2 separate regions of the Homo sapiens genome follow, and region 2 is linked to region 1. The links are contacts of gene promoters, found by promoter capture Hi-C in blood cells and fetal thymus (Javierre and others, 2016). All regions are on one chromosome and are shown on one strand. Each heading gives the region's core, a stretch centred on a gene start or on the middle of the fragment in contact. The rest is flanking DNA. Distances are from core to core; before and after follow the strand shown. Region 1 holds the start of SLCO1C1 (solute carrier organic anion transporter family member 1C1). Region 2 overlaps LOC101928387 (a long non-coding RNA gene).

The links. The method cuts DNA at HindIII sites, captures the fragments that hold promoters and counts their contacts. A CHiCAGO score of 5 or more calls a contact.
Region 2: a contact is called between a fragment that was not itself captured here and the fragment with the promoter of SLCO1C1 in region 1, in 1 of 17 cell types (M0 macrophages). The highest score is 5.2, in M0 macrophages.

What each region holds. Positions count from the first base shown.
Region 1 is chr12:20,692,943-20,697,760 of GRCh38, forward strand. SLCO1C1 (solute carrier organic anion transporter family member 1C1) reads left to right here and starts at 2,390. Exons shown (of 15, transcript NM_017435.5): 1 at 2,390-2,865. The HindIII fragment of the contact is 4,383 bases long and covers 1-2,485 here.
Region 2 is chr12:19,669,853-19,674,670 of GRCh38, forward strand. LOC101928387 (a long non-coding RNA gene) reads left to right here. Exons shown (of 7, transcript XR_007063236.1): 6 at 1,287-2,900; 7 at 3,154-3,237. Among named protein-coding and RNA genes, the nearest start is that of AEBP2, 230 kb to the left of the region's middle. The HindIII fragment of the contact is 329 bases long and covers 1,720-2,048 here.

The sequences.
Region 1 (4,818 bases), core at 1,140-3,639:
ACCTGATTAGAGTTGGTGAAAAATGAACTGGAGGAGAGGAAATATATACAAGGAATGTGACTAAAGTTTGGGCTTAGAAACATGGACTGTAGGAGCAAGAAGGAAGACAGCTAATAGCAATGTACATTTGGGTAGAGAGTAGATGTCATGAGGACAGAGTATAATATTTCTCCTGATATTTCTGTTTAGTTAGTGAATTTCCTAGACAAGATCATCAGCTAATAATCAGGGTGCAGCCAGAAATGAAGATTTGAGAGAGGTAAAGTGATTGGGTCATTAAAAAGTATTACGTCTAGCAATGCCTCTATGACTCAGTGAGTTTAGTGGTTATAAATATAAAATAAGCCCTAAGGGCATGTTACTGAGTTGTTCTTCAATCACTTAAAACAGTGCGGATGCAAATACTAAGAAGAAAGAAAGTGGATTTATCTGAGGTGAGCTTTGCCTGGGAAGATCAATAAATTGAAAGAGAAACAGGAGAATTGAGGGTATACAGAAGGAAGTGATTAAAATAATTGCATGAAAAAATTCAAGTAAGGAGGAAAATGAAAATATGAGTGTACTGGCTTGAATTGTGTCTCCCAAAAAGATATGAGGAAGTCCTAACCCCCGGTACCTGTGAATGTCACCTTTCCTGAAAAGAGAGTCTTAGCAGACCTTATCAAGTTAAGATGAGGTCATGAGGGTGGTCCCCAGCCAAAGATGACTAGCGTTTTTTTAAGTACAGAGGACAGAGACATAAAGGGAGAAGATGGCCATGTGGTAACAGAAGCAGCTGTTGGAGTGATACACCTATAAAACAAGGAGTTCAGGCTGTCAGCAAACACCAGGAGGTGGAAGAGGTAAGGAGGATTCTTCCCTACAGGTCTCAGAGGGAGCATGGCTCTGCTGACACCTTGATTTTTGACTTCTGGCCTCCAAAAGTGTGAGACAATAAAGTTCTGTTTTAGGTCACTCAGCTTGTAGTACTTTGTTAGTGCAGTCTTAGGAAATGCATTCATTTATATGTTGTCTGTGGTTAATTTACCACCAGAATGGCAGAGGTGAGTGGTTGTGATAGAGATTGCATGGTCCTACAAAACCTAAAATATTTCTTATTTGTCCCTTTATAGAAGTTTGTTAACTCCCTCATCTAGAGTTTGGAAATGGGAATGAAAGGCTGAAGTAGGCTACAATCCAATGCAAGGTTGCACATAAGAAGCTCTGAATAAGTGTAAACATTATGTGCATTCAAAACAGTAACATTAACTGTGGACTCTGGAAATAAGAAAAGGAATCGTGTTGGAGAGTGAGACTGAGCCAGTTGGGAATAGACAAAATTACATTCTCAAGGGAGAATTTCATTTCTTGGTGAGGAAAATTATGCCCTTTGGGCTGGTAAATACTGTCTCCTCTTGAATAAAACAGTGGTCTGGCCACCTGTTAGACACTGAGAAGTCTAGACTAACACTCAATGTATTCGGATGTTTGCTCACTATTTCCGATGGAAAAGTCTGGTTTGATTGTTAAAGTAAAATATTTGGCCTTTCAGAGTGTGAAAACACCATTGCTTCATTGCAAGGTTTAATATAAACCCATTTTTCTTGCATTTTCTTTTCTTTCTTTTGTAGTAAAATGTGCTTGAATAATATTAACTATTCTGACCATTATGTGAACTAAATATATATATATATAAAATGATGATACCTTCCGCTCATTTGCAATGTGCTTTTGAATACATTATATAATTTAATCCTTAAAACAGCCCTATAAATCTGTTTTTTTTTTTTTTAAACAAAAAAATTCTGCTTTACAAAGGAAGAAGTTGAGACTCAGTAAAATTAAGTGACCATCCCAGAGTCTCAGCCACTTAAGAGTAGGGTGAATCTTGGATAATTCTGGTAGCAAATTTATTTATTGGTAGAAAATAAATGCAAACTACTACTGCTTAAGATCCTCTAAAGTTTTTCTCTTGGAAAAAGAATGTATTAGAATTGTGGACTTTCTCAGTGCAAGGATTTATTTATCCTTGGAATTAGGCAGAATAAACAATTGAATGCCAAAAATTCAACGTGTTTCTTTTCTGTTTTCAAAACTCATAGAAATTGTAAATATGAGCAACTGATCATGTCTCTGAGAATTAACTCTTTTTGTACAGAGCGCTGCAGAGCTTTGATTGTGACCTGATACTTGGTCCTTAAAGATTCTAGAACACCAATGGAAAAGAAAACCATGTAGCAAATTAGCCCAAGAACCGTTAAAGACAAAACAAAACAAACCAAAACCAAAACACACAAACAAAGAAAACACAAGGATCCCAGTGATGTCCCTAAGGAATAGTTGGCTTAAAAACTTTCTGGAAGGAGGAGGGGTCTCTGTTATAAACTTCCGCCCTCCTCTGGCTTCTGTTCCTTACCCTCTGCCCCCTGCGGAGTTGTGTTTTCTGGGAATCAGCAAGTAAGATCACAAGTGGTCTTTTCTTTTATTCACTCTCTCCCATAAAGAAAGCTTTATCACGTGTGGCCTTAAACTTGCAGCAAATTGCAAAGAAATGGCTCAAAAGCTTCAGCTCTTTCTGTGCCCTGGGAGCTGAGATGCACGTCAGTGGCCTTGCCAGCGTGGCCAATTCTCTGCTGACTGCCAGAAAAAAGAGGCCAGGAAGAAAGAGGAAAGAGAAGAGATCGCTCAGGGGTGAGACCATGCCCTTCATCTTTTCTTTTCCCTAATCTCCTCTGCTTGTGTCCACCCACACTCTCCCCACCTGGCAAAATTGTTCAAAATTGCTGTGGAGTTTACCTCAGTTTCCTCTTTCAGTCTGTGGTGTGTGGTCCATCCTCTTGCTGAGCACATTGAAAGGAACTGGCTATCTTTGATCTCTTCCTCCAGGTAAGACTTGGTTCTCTCATTTTATATTTTGTGACTAATACATCAGATTCTTATGGGAGATTAACCCTTAATTTCTGTGCGATTTATGTTTTATCCATAAAAATATCAGTGAAAGGTGATGATCCCCTCATTAGTTTGATGGAAATAAGAGAGAAGATTGGTTAAAGAAATCAGATAAACTCAAATTTGAGTTCAAATTTTGAGTCTCATGCTTATAAATTGTTTAGCTTTTGACAAGTCACTTAATTGCTTTGGGCCATCTAATTTAAAAAATGGAATTCTAATATTACGTTTGTTGGGTTGTTTTAAGGATTAGAAAAAGTACGTACATTACTCAACACAAAAATAGTACTTATTAAATCTGAATCTGACACAGATAATTTGTATTAGGTGAGAAATTAGTTTCTAAACAACACACACTCCTCTGCAGCAAGTGCCGTGAGGCTATTTTTTAGTTTGTCTGAAGGGAGGCATCCTGGTGTCCAGAAGTCAAGCCAGGACAGAGGTTTTCCTCACAGGAGATGGCCAAGAGAAGAGAGGGAGGAGCGTGGTTGCCTTTAGGACTTTCTCTGTGGCAGTCCTTGGGGACTGATTGCTGGACAGAGTCCGAGTCAGTTGCAGAGCAGAGGGGTTGAGTACATCTGCGGGATCTAACTACAACCTTCCTAAGCCACTTGCTCTCTCCATTTAAAATCTGGAGGGCTGATTTTGAAACTAATGAGGACTGATTATTCAATGTTTTTGAACCAAAGGAAGAGAAACTGCTTGGCTTGTTTTTCTTTGGCCTCCAGAATAAGTTATGCTCCAAACCCAGGGTATTGGATGAAAACTGTCGTATGTCTTTTCCTGGAAGAATCTATTCAAGTGGCCAGAGATCAATTAAGGATTTGCCAAATGCAAATAATTCTGAATAACTGTGTACTCTTGCTCTACTTCTGCAGTTGCAAATGAAGAGAGAGAGCCTGCAGGCCCCAAGGATCTTTCCGTTCATGTCATTGAGCTTCCTTCCCTCTCTTTTTACAGGGGATGAACTGTAGCCTCCTTGGAACATACTACACTTGCAATAATTTGCGCATTAACCATCAAGACACTTCAGTAAAGCTATGCAGTGCCAATAGTTTAAGCTGGATCCTATTTTGCCCTAACACAAAGTGAACTGAGATGACTATATTTATATTTCATTATACTTTTGAATTTTAGTTACAGTGATTTTTGTGTCAACACCTCCATATATTAGATAACTTAAAATGTGCTATAGTATCTCAAGTTTTTCAGTAGTGTTTTTAACATAATTATTTTTTCTCTTTGACATTAGCATTCTAGATGTAACACTTTGGATCTTTTAAAGATAAATTTAGGATAAATGATAGCAGATTTTATTATTAAACAATTTATTTGTATTTTCTGGTCACTGACTTTAATATTATGACTGATGAGAAATAATATGATATCTGAATCCCCAAAAACAGAAGGCCAATTTGAATTATATAATTTAATCCTTTGAAGAATATTGCAATTTAAGCCAGAAATTTAATAATTATCCGTTTCTTATTTTAAAACCTTTCTGGTTTGTATATCTCTTGCTTGGCAATATTTTTACTCATAGTTTTGTAGTAAAGATACCTATTTAACATTGTATAACTCTGCATTTCCCAAACCCTGTTTTCCTTGTCCTGGCAAAATACTGTTCTAGAAAAGTAGTCCTAGTGACTCAGTAGATATAGGAAGTTGGCTGTTGGTATCAGATACTGTTAAGGAAGAATCTCTATATTCTTCATTTCTTAAACTTTGTTTTTTAAATCAGTAATAGATGTCGAATTTTATCAACTGATGTTTTTCATGTAATGAAATTCTATTTTTTATTTTGAATTATTCATGTGGTAATTTAGGTGAATAAATTTCCTGTAATTAACCAATTGTTGCATCTTTTAGAATAATTCTAATCATAGAGCA
Region 2 (4,818 bases), core at 634-3,133, 1.0 Mb before region 1:
AAGGGAAAATTCTGTGGGAAACTTAGCTCTCTATCACATTCTGGAAGGAATCTGCCATACAAACAAAGTTAAACATCACTGCATTAAGGCATGCCTAACAATGAACAAATTCAAAGAAGTTAAACTTGACTTACTTTGTCATTTCATGTTTGGGCCTGCTCCAGATAATTAATGTGCTCATGACACTCTCCCTGCCCAACTTTTAAAAGGTCTTTTTCTGTAGGTGATTACTCCAGTCTGGTCTTGCTAGGTAGAGCTCCAGTGGGGACACTAACATCCTATCTCTTTTTTTTTGAGACCAAGTCTCGCTCTGTCACCCAGGTTGGAGTGCAGTGGCACAATCTTGGCTCACTGAAACCTCCGCCTCCTGGGTTCAAGCGATTCTTCTGCCTCAGTCTTCCGAGTAGCTGGGACTACAGGCGCCCGCCACCACGCCCGGATAATTTTTGTATTTTTTTTAGTAGAGACAGGGTTTCACCATATGGGCCATGCTGGTCTTGAACCCCTGACCTCGCGATCTGCCTGCCTTGGCCTCTCAAAGGGCTGGGCTTATAAGCATGAGCCACTGCACCCGGCTACTTGCATCCTATCTTATGGAAACATACTTATTCTATTTTCTCAGCACACTATTCTTTGCTAGGGAAATGCAAATAAACTGAGCTGACATGTCATGGTTTGTCTTTCTCAGATGTGAGTATTTCTTCAGGGAATTTCAATGACCTAAACGGATAAAAGCAGACAGTAGAGATTTGGGGCTCAAGAGCAAGTTAGAGTGGTAGATAAGGCTGTAACAGTGACATTCTTCTCAACTCTTCTAAAGAAGTCATCGAACATGTGCCTTCTCTATATGCAAGACTGATCTACCTACTTAAAAAAGAAGAAAATAATCCATTGGACAATGCCATATAAGATTATTTTTTTGCATCTTTAAGAAAGTCTTCTTAAAATTAATGGTTTTTTTTTGGTAGGAAATGTAGCCATTAAAATAATTGCCTTTCTTAGTACCAAAGTCTCAATAGTTAAAGATTAAGGGTTCTGTTGGTTTTTCTTCTCTGTAAGATCTTGTGGCAGATTTCAGTCACATATGACTGAAGAATAAATAATAAATCTTGGATGAAAGTTTAATTTTTTTCAAAACAGGACACTTCTCATGGTCCTAATTATTTTTGAAGCCATTCTCTATTAACATTATGACAAGGATTTGGTAGTGGGAAAAGAAGTTCCAAACTTGTGTGACACATAGCTCCCATCTGGCTTTTAGTAAGTTTTTTTTTTTTTTTTTAAAGGTGTCTTGGTCCATTGTGCTGCTATAATAGAATACATGAGACTTGACAATTTAAAATGAACAGATATTTATCGGCTCAGAGTTCTGGAGGCTGGGAAGTACAATATCAAGATGCTGGCTGTTTGCGAGGGTCTTCTTGCTACATCATTTCATGGCAGAAGGTGAGAGGATGAGAGAGAGCAAGAGGGGGCTGAACTTGCCCTTTTATAATGGCACCAATTCCACCCATGACGGTGGAACTCTCCTGGCCTAAACACCTTTGAATGGTCCCACATCATTAAAGCTGTTATAATAGCAATTAAATTTCAACATGAGTTTTGGAGGAGCAAACATTGAAACTATAGTGTAAAGGAGACCTTACCCTTTTATATAATCCTTAGTAAAACTTGTGTAATTCATGTGATGGAGACTGCTAATATCTGGTTATATTGGGAAGCTTGGATATTTCCTATACATTTTAAGTATTGGATAAACTTAAGAATATTCTGTATAGGATACTTTCTCCTTGGAATCTAAATCATTTTTCTGATTTAGAAACTAAGGAGAAGCCTGTAGTCATTGGCTTAAAAATTGATTACAAATGAATTTGTAGAAATAGTACTTCCCATCCCAACTTCACTTCTATTTTACATCAGTTTTCTTTTTTTTACATAACAGATGTGACATTTAAATATTTCTCTAATGTTATGGCATAATGAACTTTGTCAAAGAGCCATATGGTTTATGCAAACACAAAGATAATCTTGGAACATTGACATATGTAAGCTTAATTTAAAAAGTCTGTGAAAATAGTGAAAAGCAGATGGAGAGTTGCCATGGAAATTACTAACACTTAGAGGAAGAAAAATATTACTTTAGGGTCATTGTGATTTCTAAAGGAATGGTCAGACTTGCAAAATTGTTTTCCTACCCAATTGTCAGTAATAAAAACAGATATTGGCAGGTAAATATATTTTTTATTTATCTATGATTTTATGATTTCACTGCATTCTGAATATATTACAGGTATGCACATTTTTATTGGTAAAGACTTTTAGTAGTGGAAGAAAATCTAACTATTTACCACTACTTTAAATAAGAAATGTTCTTTTCAATTTTTCTGAATGAAAGTACAAGTTGTGACTTATTAGTTTTTGTTCTCCTTATGTAGGTTTTTATCTTGATATAAGATAAAATTAGTATCAGAATGACATAGTCTTTAAAGGAAGATGACTAAAATTTGCTCTTATAGATTAATTGTACCAATTGTAAAAAATAGAGAGAAGTCTAGATAGCTCAATAAAAGTAATGAAAAAACCTTTTAGGCCAGATTCTTTATTAGAAATTATAATTGGTAGACACTGCTCTTTACCATAGCTTAGTCATAGAGAAAGTTTAAAAATCTCAATAGGAAGTCATTTGCACTGCTCATTTTGTACCAGCAATTATTTATCACCTGATTGGTTTATATATTCATTTCCATGAACTTTCGAAAAGTCAGTAACTAAACTCTAATTCTTTCTCTTTTCTTCTGAGGCAATTTCAGTTGCTGTGGTTCTCATGGAATAGACTAATCAAAAGTGGGAAGGAATTAAAGTTGGGGCCAGGCGGTTTTGGAACATCGACATAACATTTGGTAAAATGTGAAGCTGAATTAACGCTGTTTTTGATGTTGAAAATGAAATATCAAGAATAAAGGGATAAATATCTATGATTCCAACCTGTAGGAAATCATAAAAACTTGTTTCTTTGCAAAACACTAAAATTATACAATAAGATTCAATGGGAATTTAAAATGAGGATGCTGGGATCAACTAATGCAGATGGATTAGCATTTAAGTTGTTTTTTTCTTTGTTCTTTCTTTCCTTTCCTTTTTTTTTTTTTAAAGATTTGGATGGCAAATCGTCTTTCTGCAATTGTTTTATGGCTGCCATTGCAATTAAGAAATGGAAAATAAATTTCTGAAATCCAACAAAGTCTGATCTTATCAGCATCAGAACCATGTATGGAAAAATCCTCATAAGTGGAGCGGTTGAACCTTGGAAATATATCAGCCTTCGAAAATTGCAGCTGGAGACATCTGTCATTTGTGAGAGTGAAGGTTTAGTTGGCTTCATACCTGAGCTAGGGGTTCTTGAGATCCCGCATTTGTTTTAGGCGAAGAGAAATCAGTGTTTCTCTCTTGTGAAATGCTTTGGATGTTTGAGGAAAAATACACGTTTATTGAAGTATAACAAATATACAGAAAAGTGTACAGACCACAGGTCATAGTTTTATCAATTTCCACAAAGGAAGTTACTAATACCCTGAAAAATAAATACACTATGATTAGAAGCCCAAAGTCCATTCTGGTATAACCATCCAGTCTTTACAGCCCCAAATGTAACCACCACCTTGACTTTTTTTTTTTTTTAAGATGGAGTTTTGCTCTGTTGCCCAGGCTGGCGTGCAATGGTGTGATCTCGGCTCACTGCAACCTCCACCTCCTGGGTTCAAGCAATTCTTCTGCCTCAGACTCCTGAGTAGCTGGGATTACAGGTGTGTGCCACCATGCCCAGCTAATTTTGTATTTTTAGTAGAGATGGGTTTCACCATGTTGGTCAGGCTGGTCTCAAACTCCTGACCTCAGATGATCCGCCCACCTCGGCCTCCCAAAGTGCTGGGATTACAAGCGTGAGCCACTGTGCTGGGCCCATCTTGACTTCTAAACTGTGGAATAGTTTTGCCTGATTCTGGAATTTATATAAATGTAACCAAAGAGGATATACTTTTTGGGTCTGTCTCTGTTAGCTGAACATTATGTTTGTAAGATTTATTCCTGGTGTTGCATGTAGCAAATCGGTGTCATCCTCACTGCTCTATAGTACTAACTATTCTGTTGTATGAAAAGTCCACAATTTTTCATTAATATTAACAATGTTCCTATAAACATTCTTATATATGTTTTTTAGGGAAGATAGAGACACATTTGTGTGTGTGCGTGTGTGTGTGTCTGTGTGTATATATACCAAGGAGTGGAACTGCTGGAGCATATGGTAATCATTTCTAGTGGAAACTGCTGAATAGTTTTTCCCAAGAAGTTTTATGTGAATTCCACCTGCTTTTCATCCTTGTCAACTCTTGGTACTGTCATTTTTATTTTTACCCTTAATGGCAGATGGTCGTGGTGTCTCATTCTTGTTTCAGCTGAAGAAGCTGAGTGCCTTTAGATATGTTTACTGGCCCTTTGGATATCCTCTTTTGCAAAGTGTCTGTTCAAGTTTCTTGGCCAGTTTTTCTATTGGATTGTCTGTATTTTTCTTATTGATTTTAGGAGTTCTCTTGTATTCTGAATCGGAGCCTTTTGTCAGTAAGATGTATGGAAACATCTTCCACTCTGGGGCTTAACTTTTTACTTCTTAGTGATGTCTTTGATGAACAGACGTTATTAATTTTAACATAATATAATTGATCAATTTTTGTTTATTTTATGGTTAGTCCCTTTTAAATTCTGTTTAATAAATCTGTTTAATAAATTTTATATTTTTTGTTTTTTATAAATTTTATTAAAATA